Regions from separate parts of the Homo sapiens genome. Here regions 1 and 3 are each linked to region 2. The links are contacts of gene promoters, found by promoter capture Hi-C in human tissues and cell types (Jung and others, 2019). All regions are on one chromosome and are shown on one strand. Each heading gives the region's core, a stretch centred on a gene start or on the middle of the fragment in contact. The rest is flanking DNA. Distances are from core to core; before and after follow the strand shown. Region 1 overlaps ZP3 (zona pellucida glycoprotein 3). Region 2 holds the start of UPK3B (uroplakin 3B). Region 3 overlaps LINC03009 (long intergenic non-protein coding RNA 3009).

Evidence for each region. Contacts are between HindIII fragments. The study calls those that stand out against the background at their distance.
Region 1: a fragment that was not itself captured here is called in contact with the fragment with the promoter of UPK3B in region 2 in 2 of the 25 tissues and cell types used here (mesendoderm cells and spleen).
Region 3: a contact is called between a fragment that was not itself captured here and the fragment with the promoter of UPK3B in region 2, in 3 of the 25 tissues and cell types used here (dorsolateral prefrontal cortex, mesenchymal stem cells and stomach).

Annotation. Positions count from the first base shown.
Region 1 is chr7:76,428,877-76,432,838 of GRCh38, forward strand. ZP3 (zona pellucida glycoprotein 3) reads left to right here. Exons shown (of 8, transcript NM_001110354.2): 2 at 639-757. Among named protein-coding and RNA genes, the nearest start is that of ZP3, 5.9 kb to the left of the region's middle. The HindIII fragment of the contact is 7,406 bases long and covers 1-3,962 here.
Region 2 is chr7:76,508,841-76,513,233 of GRCh38, forward strand. It overlaps UPK3B (uroplakin 3B), which reads left to right and starts at 1,712. Exons shown (of 6, transcript NM_001347684.2): 1 at 1,712-1,897; 2 at 2,063-2,212; 3 at 2,817-3,042; 4 at 4,244-4,323. The coding sequence starts at 1,813. It overlaps LOC124901675 (a long non-coding RNA gene), which reads right to left and starts at 1,893. Exons shown (of 2, transcript XR_007060388.1): 1 at 1,684-1,893; 2 at 1-1,268. RefSeq lists a silencer at 94-299 and enhancers at 1,177-1,749, 1,750-2,322, 3,076-3,727, 3,728-4,379, 4,380-4,393. The HindIII fragment of the contact is 20,174 bases long and covers 1-4,393 here.
Region 3 is chr7:76,585,754-76,590,168 of GRCh38, forward strand. The region is part of intron 2 of LINC03009 (long intergenic non-protein coding RNA 3009); the gene reads left to right. Among named protein-coding and RNA genes, the nearest start is that of LINC03009, 39 kb to the left of the region's middle. The HindIII fragment of the contact is 4,977 bases long and covers 57-4,415 here.

The sequences.
Region 1 (3,962 bases), core at 68-2,567, 80 kb before region 2:
TCACCATGTTGGTCAGGCTGGTCTCAAACTCCTGACCTCAGATGATCTGCCCTCCTCAGCCTCCCAAAGTGCTGGGATTACGGGCGTGAGCCACAGCGCCCAGCCAGAAGCTGATAAGTGTTAACAGCTGGGCACTTCCTGACTGCTTCCTGGCGGCTATCTTGGCCCTGGGCCTCTCCTGAAAGAGGAAACTGTATGTACTGGGGGGCATGGAGGGGGAGTGTCAGAAGGGATGTGTCATGTGCCCTGATGCCTCTATTGCTTGGGTGTTACATGGTATCTGCCATGTGGTTGATCCAGTCTGCCTGTGGTGGTGTCAATATGTGGTGTCAGGTAAAGATTCCGAGGTACAAAGACAGTACCTGTCCTGCCTCTTTCCTGACCAGTGGCAGAGCCTGTGTTCTCTTTTGTAGAGATGGGGTCTTGCTATGTTTCCCAGGCCAGTCTCAAACTCCTGGCCTCAAGCAATCCTTGGCCTCCCAAAGTGCTGGGGTTACAGGCATGAGTCACTGCACCTGGCCTTGACCCTGTGGTCTTTCTGTCCCCTTGTGGGCTGCCCTCCCTGAGCACTCAGGTATGGCTTGGGAGTACCCGGGCAGGTGATGGCCGGCAGCATTAACTTCTCACCTTTCCTCCAGGTAACTGACGATGCCCTGGTGTACAGCACCTTCCTGCTCCATGACCCCCGCCCCGTGGGAAACCTGTCCATCGTGAGGACTAACCGCGCAGAGATTCCCATCGAGTGCCGCTACCCCAGGTCGGTGTGGGACTGACTCATGGCCCCTGGTGCAAAAGCCCCTTGGGTGTGGCTGCAGGCAAGTGGGCTGGCTATGGGCTACAGCTTGCAGCATGGCTATTAGAACTACCTACCGAAGCATTTGCAGCTGTGGTTACTGTACTGCGTGGGATTGTGGGGCCTGCTGAGTCTAGTTCGAGCCCCAGAAGAGTATCAGGAGCCCAACTGCAGCTTAGCGGAAGCTTCAGAGCTGCTCAGCCCTGGTGGTGGTACTATGCCAGCCTCGGCCCTTAGGGTTCAGAAATGGCCTTCCAATAGTGCTAGGCTGGGGCCAGGTGCAGTGGCTCATCCTGTAATCCTAGCACTTTGGGAGGCTGACAGGTGGATCGCTTGAGGTCAAGGAGTTCAAGACCAGTCTGGCCTACATGGTGAAACCCCATCTCTACTAAAAACACAGAAATTAGCCGGGTGTCTATAATCCCAGCTACTTGGGAGGCTGAGGCAGGAGAATTGCTTGAACCCAGGAGGCAGAGGCTGCAGTGAGCCGAGATTGCACTGCTGTACTCCATTCTGGGCAACAAAGCGATACTCCATCGCAAAAAATAATAATAAAATAGTGCTAGGCTGCGTTCTAGAATCTGACCTGGGCGGTGGTGGCCTACTCTTCTGTGGTCCTCAAGCCCCTGGCATCAAGCACGTGCCTGTGAACTCAGGCCCTGAAGTGGGAGGAGAAACTATGGCTCCCAAGGACAACACTGGGTCCTGTGCTGGCCTCAGCATGGGGTGCAGGGGACTTTGTCCCTGCCCTTGAACCAGTCTGGGAGTGGGTATAAGATGATGCGGCCAGGTATGGTGGCTCACGCCTGTAATACCAGCCCTTTGGGAGGCCAAGGTGGGCAGCTCACGAGGTAAGGAGTTCAGGACCAGCCTGGCCAACATGGTGAAACCCATCTCTACTAAAAACACAAAAAAATTAGCCGAGTGTGGTAGCGCGTGCCTGTAATCTCAGCTACTCAGGAGGCTGAGGCAGGAGAATCATTTGAACCCAGGATGCAGAGGTTGCAGTGAGCTGAGATGGCACCATTGCACTCCAGCCTGGGCAACAGAGCAAGACTCCATCTCAAAAAGAAAATGCTAGTGTGAAGTGGGTAGGGAGCTGATACCAGTCAGGACATCATGAGGGATGAGCCATGCCCCTGGGAGGGGTCATGGTAGGGGTTATCCTAGAACAGGATCCTGGAGTGGGGGACCTTGAGGCTGAGATGGCCTGGGCAGAGCCATGTGGCCACACACCCAACGGGAGGGTAGTGTGCCCTTAGTAGGTGACATGCAGCCTGGGGGCTGGAGCCCAGGGACTGGGGTAATGAGGGAGCCAGACAGATGGGCTCACCAGCCTCACCACAGGTGCCCCTCCTGGAATGGGTGAGGACTGAATCTCCACCCAGGGTCACCTGGTGGCTGGTGCTGAAGACAAATGGGAACTAGTGAGAACCAGCTGGGAGGCTGGAAAACTGGGATTCAATGAGGCCTGACCCATGGTTGCAGGGACCGTAGAGGCTGACTCGCAGGAGCTAAGAGCAGTTGGAGGAGCTTGGTGCCTATGTGGGTAGGGGAGATGGAGGAGGATAGAGGAGTCAAGGGCAGGCTGCCCAGTCGGCATGAGGGACTGAAGCTGTCCTGTGACCGTGGAAGTCTGACTTCAGTCTCTGGGCCTGACCCCTGAGGATGGTGGCTCACCTGGTCCATTGGCTGTAGGTAGTATTAGAGAGGCTGGTTGTAGGCTGGGATGCTTTAACCTGGCTCCAGATACCTGAGTCTGGTTATCAATAGATGCATCCATCACTTGGAGTAGCTTCTTCCAGCAGATCCTATGGGGTTAGCAGGGTAGGTATCTGCAGATACCCAGACCTGCTTCCATGGACTTCCCAGTCACTGGTGTGGGTCCAGGCTCTCGGTAGCATCTCAAGACCTAAGGGCCTGTCTTTGATCTCTAAAGGATGGCCTTGGCTGGGCATGGTGGCTCACGCCTATAATCCCAGCACTTTGGGAGGCCGAGGCGGGCGGATCATGAGGTCAGGAGATGGAGACCATCCTGGCTAACGTGGTGAAACCCCGTCTCTACTAAAAATACAAAAAATTAGCCAGGCCTAGTGGCGGGTGCCTGTAGTCCCAGCTATTTGGGAGGCTGAGGCAGGAGAATGGCGTGAACCTGGGTGGTGGAGCTTGCAGTGAGCCGAGATCGTGCCACTGTACTCCAGCCTGGGAGACAAAGTGAGACTCCGTCTCAAAAAAAAAAAAAAAAGATGGCCTTAGCTGATTCCCCTCTCAAGCATCCTGTGGAGTACTGTGCAGGGCCTGCTATCAGACCCCAAACCTGAACCTCTAGGGCTAAAGTATGTGTGGTGGCTTTTGGTTTTTTGTTTAAAAAAAAAAAGTCTTACTCTGCCGCCCAGGCTGGAGTGCAGTGGGGTGCCATCATAGTTCACTGCAGCCTTGACCTCCTGGGCTCAAGCAATCCTCCCATCTCAGCCTCCTGAGTAGCTGGTATGTACTACTATGCCCAGCTATCTTTTCTTTTCTTTTCTTTTTTTTTTGAGATGGAGTCTTGCTCTGTTGCCCAGGCTGGAGTGCAGTGGTGTGATCTCAGCTCACTGCAAACTCCACCTCCGAGGTTCACGCCATTCTCCTGCCTCAGCCTCCCAAGTAGCTGGGACTAAAGGCGCCCGCCACCATGCCCGGATAATTTTATTTTTAGTGGAGATGGGGTTTCACCATGTTAGCCAGGATGGTCTCGATCTCCTGACCTCATGATCCGCCCGCCTCGGCCTCTCAAACTGCTGGGATTATAGGCTTGAGCCACCGTGCCTGGCCTCTTTTCTTTTTTATAGAGATAGAGTCTTGCTATGTTGTCCAGGCTGCTCTCAAACTCCTAGCCTCAGGCAATCCTCCAGTCTCCACCTCCCAAAGTGCTGGGATTACAGGCATGAGCCACCGCACTCAGGTCCAGGGCTCAAGAGGGAGCAGATCTCAGTCTAGAAACCAAACTCCTAGGTTCAGCTGTATCTGTCTTCAGCGGCCCAGATAGCATCATAGCATCAGTTAGGATGGCTAGGCCACTCACAGGTGCAGAAGTTCAGGAGGGTGCAGGGGCAGCCTCAGGCTCAAGGTGTCTGTTCAGCCATCTCGCACCAGCTACCTGGCTGGGCCATAGCTGAGGACCCTGTAG
Region 2 (4,393 bases), core at 462-2,961:
GCCAAGTTGGTGAAACCTCATCTCTACTAAAAATACAAAAATTAGCTGGGCATGGTGGTAGGTGCCTGTAGTCCCAGCTACTAGGGAGGCTGAGGCAGAAGAATTGCTTGAACCCAGGAGGTGGAGGTTGCAGTGAGCAGAGATCACGCCATTGCACTCCAGCCTGGGCGACAGGGTGAGACTCCATGTCTCAAAAAAAAAAAAAAATAGCCAGGCACGGTGGCTCACGCCTGTAATCCCAATACTTTAGGAGGCCAAGGCAGGAGATTTGCTTGATCCTCCCAGGAGTTAGAGATCAGCCTGGGCAACATAGCAAGATCCTGTTTCTATAAAAAATACATTTTTAAAAATTGGCCAGCCGGGCGCAGTGGCTCACACCTGCAATCCCAGCGCTTTGGGAGGCTGAGGTGGGTGGATCACCTGAGGTCAGGAGTTCGAGACCAGCCTCACCAACGTGGAGAAACCCTATCTCTACTAAAAATACAAAATTAGACAGGTGTGGTGGCACATGCCTGTAATCCCAGCTACTCAGGAGGCTGAGGCAGGAGAATCACTTGAACCCAGGAGGTGGAGGTTGCGGTGAGCCAAGATCGAGCCATTGTACTCCAGCCTGGGCAACAAGAGTGAAAACTCCGTTTCAAAAAAAACAAAAAAAAAATTGGCGGGGGTGCCAGGCACGGTGGCACATGCCTGTAATCCCAGCACTTTGGGAGGCCAAGGCGGGTGGATCACTTGAGATCAGGAATTTGAGACCAGCCAAGCCAACATGGTGAAACCCCGTCCCTACTAAAAATACAAAAATTAGCTGGCCGTGGGGCACATGCCTGTAATCCCAGCTACTTGGGAGGCTGAGGCAGGAGAATCGCTTGAACCCAGGAGGCGGAGGTTGCAGTGAGCCCAGATCACGCCACTGCACTCCAGCCTGGACAACAAAGGAGACTCCATCTTAAAAAAAAATTAATTAAATAAATTTTAAAAATTAGCCGGAGCATGGTGTTGTGTGCCTGTGGTTCCAGCTACTGGGAAGGCTGAGGTGGGAGGATTAACTGAACCTGGGAGTTTGAGGCTCCAGTTAGCTGTGAACTGACCTCCCTGGGTGACATATATATATTTAAGCCACTGAGCTGTGAAGGTTGTGAAGGTATGTGAGTTATGTCTTGAAAAATACACACATAGTGAGCGCCAAATCCCGGGAGTAGTGTTTAAGTGGCGGGCTTGTCAGCTGTCAAGGGCTCTGCAGCCCTTTCTCTGAATCCAAGTTCTTCTTCCTGTGGACAGGGAACCCAGGCTGCGAACTGGGAGGATGTGGCCTCGTGGGGGGCAGGGCCAGCGTGCTGTGATGGGGATGGGGCTGGGCAGGTTGGGGCTGCCTGCTACTCCCCACTCCTGACTCTGGGTGGGGACAGAAGGCAGAGGGAGGCTCCTGGCACCTGGGGCACAGGAATCTCAGGCATGTGGTCCTGAGCCTGTTTCCAAAAGCCAGACCCTCCTCCCCAGGGCGGAGAGACTGGGAGGGGCCCCAATCCAGGCTCCGGGATGGCCTGGCTGGCATCTGGGGTTCCAGTGGCCCCTCTCCCTTGGCCCTGGCAGTGGGGCTGGATACTGGCCTGCCTCCCACCAGAGTCCCCCCAGCTCCTCCCTGCTGTGGGCTGGCCTGGGAGGAAGGGGGTGGGGTGCACTTACATTTGCAGGTCTTTCCAGCCCCTGGGGCAGCCTGATTAACCAGCTTCTCCAGGGCCAAGCTGTTGGGGGTGAGGTGCAGCCCGAAGCAGCCAGACCAGCCCCTGAGCCTCCCGGGTGCTGGCAGCTGTCATGGGGCTACCCTGGGGGCAGCCTCACCTAGGGCTGCAGATGCTCCTCCTGGCGTTGAACTGTCTCCGGCCCAGCCTGAGCCTGGGTGAGTGGGGGTCCTGGATGGACGCGTCCAGCCAGACCCAAGGGGCTGGGGGCCCTGCTGGAGTGATTGGACCCTGGGCGCCCGCCCCCCTCCGATTGGGAGAGGCAGCCCCAGGGACCCCCACGCCCGTCTCCGTGGCTCACCTTTTGTCCCCCGTGGCCACAGAGCTGGTGCCCTACACACCACAGATAACAGCTTGGGACCTGGAAGGGAAGGTCACAGCCACCACCTTCTCCCTGGAGCAGCCGCGCTGTGTCTTCGATGGGCTTGCCAGCGCCAGCGATACCGTCTGGCTCGTGGTGGCCTTCAGCAATGGTACGGGGACTGCTGTGGGGCCTGGGTGAGGGTGACGGCTGAGGAGAGTGGTGGGCCCTAGGAGCCCCTCACCAGCAAGCGCCTTCAATGATTGAGCCCCTGTGGGGGCCTTTGGGAGAGTAGGTGTGGATGAATTGGGCTTTATCTAAAGGGGTAATATGTGTATTGAAAAATACACACGTAGTGAACACCAAATCCCGGGAGTAGTGCTAGTGGTGGGTTTGTCAGCTGTCAAGGGCTCTGCAACCCTTTCTCTGAATCCAAGTAGTTCTTCCTTTGGACAGGGAACCGAGGCTGCGACCTGGGAGGATGTGGCCTCCTGTGGGGCAGGGCCGGTGCACTGCAATGGGGCTGGGGCTGGGGCTGGGCAGGTTGGGACTGCCCGCTGCTCCCCACTCCTGGCTCTGGGTGGGGACAAAAGGCCAGAGGGAAGCTCCCCTTCAGGGGTAACAAAGTCGACTGGGTCTGGACTATCTCTGGGGGCCCTGAGGGAGGAGGTGGCATGGGGGGTCAGGGCTGGAGACTGGGCGAACACAGAACCCCCACTCATAAGGACAAAGCTGCTTTCTCCCCTCCCACCTCCATCTGTTCTCTCCTCCTGCAGCCTCCAGGGGCTTCCAGAACCCGGAGACACTGGCTGACATTCCGGCCTCCCCACAGCTGCTGACCGATGGCCACTACATGACGCTGCCCCTGTCTCCGGACCAGCTGCCCTGTGGCGACCCCATGGCGGGCAGCGGAGGCGCCCCCGTGCTGCGGGTGGGCCATGACCACGGCTGCCACCAGCAGCCCTTCTGCAACGCGCCCCTCCCTGGCCCTGGACCCTATCGGTGGGTGGTCCCCACCGGAGCCCTGGGACTGGGGCTGTGCTTGGGGCGGACGCATTGCTGGGACCAGGGATGCTCTCTCTAGCATCTTTCCAGGGAGGGGTCCCCGGCCCCGGTCCTCCCCTTTGCAAGCCCGGGCTCCTTCCACTGTAGAGTCAGCAACAGTGCTCACCCCCGCTGGGGCCGGGCAAGGCCCAGGAGGAGCAGGTGGGCACCTTGGGGAGGCGGGATCTTAGTCAAGGTGGGAGGGGGCAGCTTCCCCAAAGTCTAGGCCCCTGTCCCCCACCACGGGCAGATCTGGCAGGAAACTCGGGGGCCGAGTTCAGACCCAGTCTCGTCGGTATTAGGCAGGGAGCAGGAGAGGTGGCTCCTACCCGCTCTTACAGATGAGGAAACTGAGGCACAGGAGGTCAAGTGGCCTGCCAACATCGGGGTGGAGCCGGGATGGGGAAGCAGGCAGTGTGTCCAGGTCAGGACTGTCCGGACACAGGAGGAGGCGGGGTGACCTCAGGAAGACCAGGCCCAGGGGAAGCCGGGAAGGCAGGGCGTGGTGAGGCTGGAACAGCACCCCGCTCCGCCCAGCCCCCTTCTGCCCTCTCACCCACTCTCCAGGTCCACCCTCTGCCCTCCCCGCTGCCTCACCCTGGCTCAGCCTTCCAGCTCCATGCCCCGCCCCATCCCCCGCAGCCACTCTTTTCAATGCCAACCTGCCAGGTCCTTCCCCGCTTCCCAGGCCTTGCAGAGCTCCCAGCCCTGCAAAGAGACAAACCGAGGCCCTCTGCGGGGCTCCTGGTGCCCTGGGTCCTCAGGCTGCTGGTGATTGAGCCCCCTGCCCCCGGCTACTGCTGCCCCTCTGGGAGGCCTGTGACCCCTGCCCCATGTGCCCTGCTAAGCCACCTTCACCTGCTCTTTTGGCTTGTGACATTTAGGAACCAGGGCCCCTAAACCAGCATCCCCGGCCCAGGTCTGGTGTCTGGAGAGCAATTGCTCGGGGGGATGAGGGGTGGTGGCACAGGCCAAGTGGCTGGAGACATCTCAGGGGATTCTCAGAGCAGGGCCAGGCCATGGGCTGCTGCTCTTGACGGGCACCCCCACTCCACATCCATGGGAGGGCCCCAGAGGAGCTGCCTGGGGCTTGGCCCTGCCCAGGGTGGTCCCAGCCTCTGAAGCTCTCCCCTCCTCCCCCACCACCTCCCATCCCCAGGGTGAAGTTCCTCCTGATGGACACCAGGGGCTCACCCAGGGCTGAGACCAAGTGGTCAGACCCCATCACTCTCCACCAAGGTAGCGCTGGGCAGGAGGGGCGCTGCCCCCAGTGGACTCACGATCTCTCTGGGCCGCCTCTGCTGAGCTG
Region 3 (4,415 bases), core at 1,295-3,794, 78 kb after region 2:
AGGACTAAGTTCACCCCTCTGTTTAAACATAAACCTTCTGAGCAATCTACCTGATGTCCTGTGAATCATGATGTTTTCCATTCTGGCTGTTGAGAACAACACTATTCCTATCCCTTTGTGAGCACTGAAGACTTTTCCCTCATACCCTTTCAGGTGGTTCTTTTCCCAAACTCAAGTAGTTTTCTCACATGCACTGAGCAGTACTCAGCTGTATGTACAAGGGGGACTCTGGAGATTTCTGGGGTTATTTCTTTGTATAGCTCTCTCTACTTCAGTACTGTGCTGTATACATGCCAGCCACCTTGATCTCCCTGCAATTCCAGCTCCTCAACTCAAAGTTCTGTGTTCCACTTGTGTTCCCATTCTGTGGTATAAGAATAAATGCATATTTACTGTTTGTTCCATTTCTGGTACAAAGCAGAGCCTAAAAGCCTTGTAATTTCCTGAGTGATAGGAGTGTCTTTTGTTAATAATAACAAACTTCTTTCAACCACATTTGAATTTATGCTAATGAGGTGACCCTCTTATGGCCGTGAGATAGCTTCAGGGTGGGGGTTGGTTGTCAGAAGAACCAGCCTTCTCATTAGAAGGTTGGAACTTTCAGTCCCTTAACCTCCAGGGAGAGAAGAGGGGTTGGAGATTGATTTCACTCACAAGTGACCACTGATTTAACAAATCATGCCTATGTGATGGAGTCTCCATAAAAAACCCTAACCCATGGGGTTTGAGAGCTTCCAGGTTGGTGAACACATTGAAATGCTGGAAGGGTGGTGCAACTGGAGAGGTCACGGAAGCTCTGCACCCTTTCATCCATACTTTGACCTTTGCGTCTCTTCCATTTGGCTGTTCCTGAGCTTTATAATAAACTGGCAATAGTAACATTAAAATAATTAATCGGGAGACCAATAGGCTGAGACAACTAGCACCTTGGGTTCTTACAGAAGCAAACAAAAACCCAACTCAGTGTCAACAGTAACATGAAACTTAAGCTTAGCTAATCAGCTACTGCCAGTCAACCTCTAAGGACTTCCACTTTAACTAGTCAAATATTTTCTTTGTCATGTTTCCATGCATCCCCTATAAAAGTGTTTGCCTCATGCCCCCTTAATGGAGCACTAACTGCTTGTTTTCTGGTGCTGGCCAATCCATATATTGCTGCATGCTCAAATAAATTCATTAAGATTTTAATTTGCCTAATTTTATCTTTTAATAGTCTGTAAAGCTGTTTCCAGTGTCTGTAAATTGCTACAGCAAATTCTTAACCATGGGGGGATGTCCTGGGAACCCCTTACTTTGTAGTTGGCCAAGCATAAAGGTAGGTAGTCTAGGCACCCCATTAGCAACTGGAGTCTGAAGTGTGGTCAGTCTTGTGGGACTGAAGCTTTCAAACCTATAGAGTCTCATGCAAACTCTCGGTAGTTAGTGTCATAATGGAATTTAATTGTAGGACCTCTGGTTGGTGTAAAAAATCAGAGAATTGGAAAATTGGTTGTTGGTGTTAGAAAACACCCAGGTCTTCCTTGTGCTATGACCTGGAAGCTTTCTCCAGGCAGTAAATAGAGCAATCAAAAGGCTCATGCTTTTTGTCAATGGATCATTGTCTTTCATTTTTTAATGGTCAATGTATTGAGAACTTTTATTTTAAATATTTTGTCCACTTTTTTAGTTGCTTCATGTGGGAGAGTAAGTCCAGTCTCTGTTACTCCCTCTTGGCAGGAAGTGAAAATCCCTTTATCTCTCGAATCTGCAACCCCACAACTTTCCATCCGCAGTCATCATAGATGCTCCTACTGTTTTGTTCACGTGTGATCTTCAAAGGTCAATTCTCAATCCTCGTCTTATTTTATCTACTACTGTCAATTCCCACATAGTTACTTATTTCTCTCCTCCCTTGCTGACTTAGGTTTTCTAGGGTGGCCTTCTTAAAGTGCCACAAATGGGGAGTTTACAATAAACAGAAATTTATTTTCTCCCTGTTCTGGAGAATTGAAGTCCAAAATCAACATGTTGACAGGACTATGCTCCCCTCTGAAACTCATAAAGGAAGAATTCTTTCTTGTCTCTTCCTGGCTTCTGGTGGTTTGCCAGCAATCTTTGTCATTCCTCTACTTGTAGCAGCAGCACTTCAATCTCTGCCTCCAATATCATGTCATTCTCACCTCATGCATCCATGTCTTCACATGACATTCTCTTCTGTGTGTTTCTATCCCTTCTTCTTATAAGGTCACCAGTCATATTGGATCCCTATTCTAATGATCTCCTTTGAATTTGATTACATTTAAAAGATCTTATTTCTAAAGAAGATCACATGCACAGGTACTGAAGCTTCAGATTTCAACATATATTTTGGGAGGACAACATTCAGCCTGTAACACTGATTATTCTATTATACCTTCTTCTGAACTTCTGAAAGTTGAAGCATCCTAGCTGAGTCTTCAGACTTCTTCTTTTGCATACTCCCTCAGTAATAATCTTATCGGGTCCTAAGTCTTTAAACATCACCTCAACATTAAAGTTTCCAAACATTATATTATTGATGCCAATTTGTTTCCTGAATTCCAAATTCATATGTTCAACTGCAAAATCTATATTTCTAACTAAAGAAATCCAAAACAAAGCCTTTTTTCTGATTCCTGCCGACCCTCCCATCAAACATGTCCTTCTATTCTTTCTCATCTTAGGAAATGAAAATACTATTTCTCACTGTTGCTCACATTAAAAATTTGAATAACTTTAAACTTTGTTAAAACCCAGTAAATCTGAAATTTAGCATCCTAAATTTACCATCTAGCATCGTCTGATATCCTTGCCCAGTCATCATTGTTTTTTGTTTCTAATTTAACTTTAGCCCTTGCAATAGTTCTCTAATTGGTCTTCCTGTTTACATTATTACACATTGTATTCCATCATCTGCAAACTAACCACAGTAGTCATTTTCATGTTCAAAACTTTTATTGGCTTCTCATTACACATAGAACAAAGTTCATATTTTTAAACTCTAAACAATATTGTTCTATGTAATCTAGCATTGCATCCTCCTCCTCAATCTCACTTCCTTCCCTTCTTCCTGTTGCTCACTCCACTAGCTTTCTAGCTTCTGTTTGAATAAGTCAAGCACTTTCCTACCTCAAGGGCTTTGCAATAGTTCCTTTCTGCCGGGCACAGTTTTCTCAACCTTCTCATGAATTTCTTTCCACAAATATTCTTTTTTTTTTTTTTTTTTTGATGGAGTCTTGCTCTGTCACCACCCAGGCTGGAGTGTAGTGGTGTGATCTCAGCTCACTGCAACCTCCACCTCCTGGATTCAAGCGATTCTCCTGCCTCAGCCTCCCAAGTAGCTGAGACTACAGGCATGTGCCACCAAACCAAGCTAATTTTTGTAACTTTAGTAAAGACAGGGTTTTACCATGTTGGCCAGGATGGTCTTGATCTCTTGACCCTGTGATCTGCCCGTCTAGGCCTCCCAAAGTGCTGGGATTACAGGGGTGAACCACTGCGCCTGGCTCTCTTCCCATAAATATTCTATAGTTCAATCTCTCTTTTATTCAAATCTGTGTCCCCAAAATCACTTCCAGAGATGACTTAAACCACTGTGTGTCCTGACCACTGTGACTTAAACATCACACCCAGGATTTCTCCAGTTCTCTCTGCTTTATTTCTCCTTATAATTCTAATCCTTTATTGACATTATTTTAGAGATTTTAGAGATATATGTATTTGTTTGCATGATTTCCCCTTTCCTCCATCAGACTGCAGCCCTATGAGGATCAGGATTTTTGTCTGTTTTTAGTATATTTAAAAAATTCCTGCTTAATACATAGGAGTTATTCAAAATATTTCTGAAAATGGAGTAATTTTTATTTATTGATACATACCTAGTATTTATCAGAATGCCTGGCATAATATAGGTTTCAGTAGGTATTTGCTCAATGAATGAAGAGTTTCTTAATGTAAACTGAATAAACAGAAACAAATTATTAGGAAATGTAATTTAGATTTAAAAGGCCTCTGTTGTTTACAAATGAATTCTAATCAGGTAGGTACTAGCAGCTCCTCAGGGAGGTAAAAGCTATCATTTAGAATGTGGCTGCCCTTTCTGGGTAGCTTTTTGTTTTTTCTGATCATAATGGCATGCAAAAAGATAATACAAGAAAGTACCAATGCTAAGGCTTACATTGGTAAAGAGAGAGAGAATATTACTCTTCAGCAATTGTTCATTGTTATCAGTACTGGATTTGATTACGGATATAGGATTTATAGCTCTAAATTTGGAGCTCTAAAGAAACCTTTAGTTTTGAAATAACTGTAAGAATTTGTAACTCTTGAGTTTCCAATATTAAATCATTTTCCCAACTTTTAAAAGTTAGATTCTCCTTTTATCCATAAAATGGTCCTGAATACTTGAAGTTTATTAT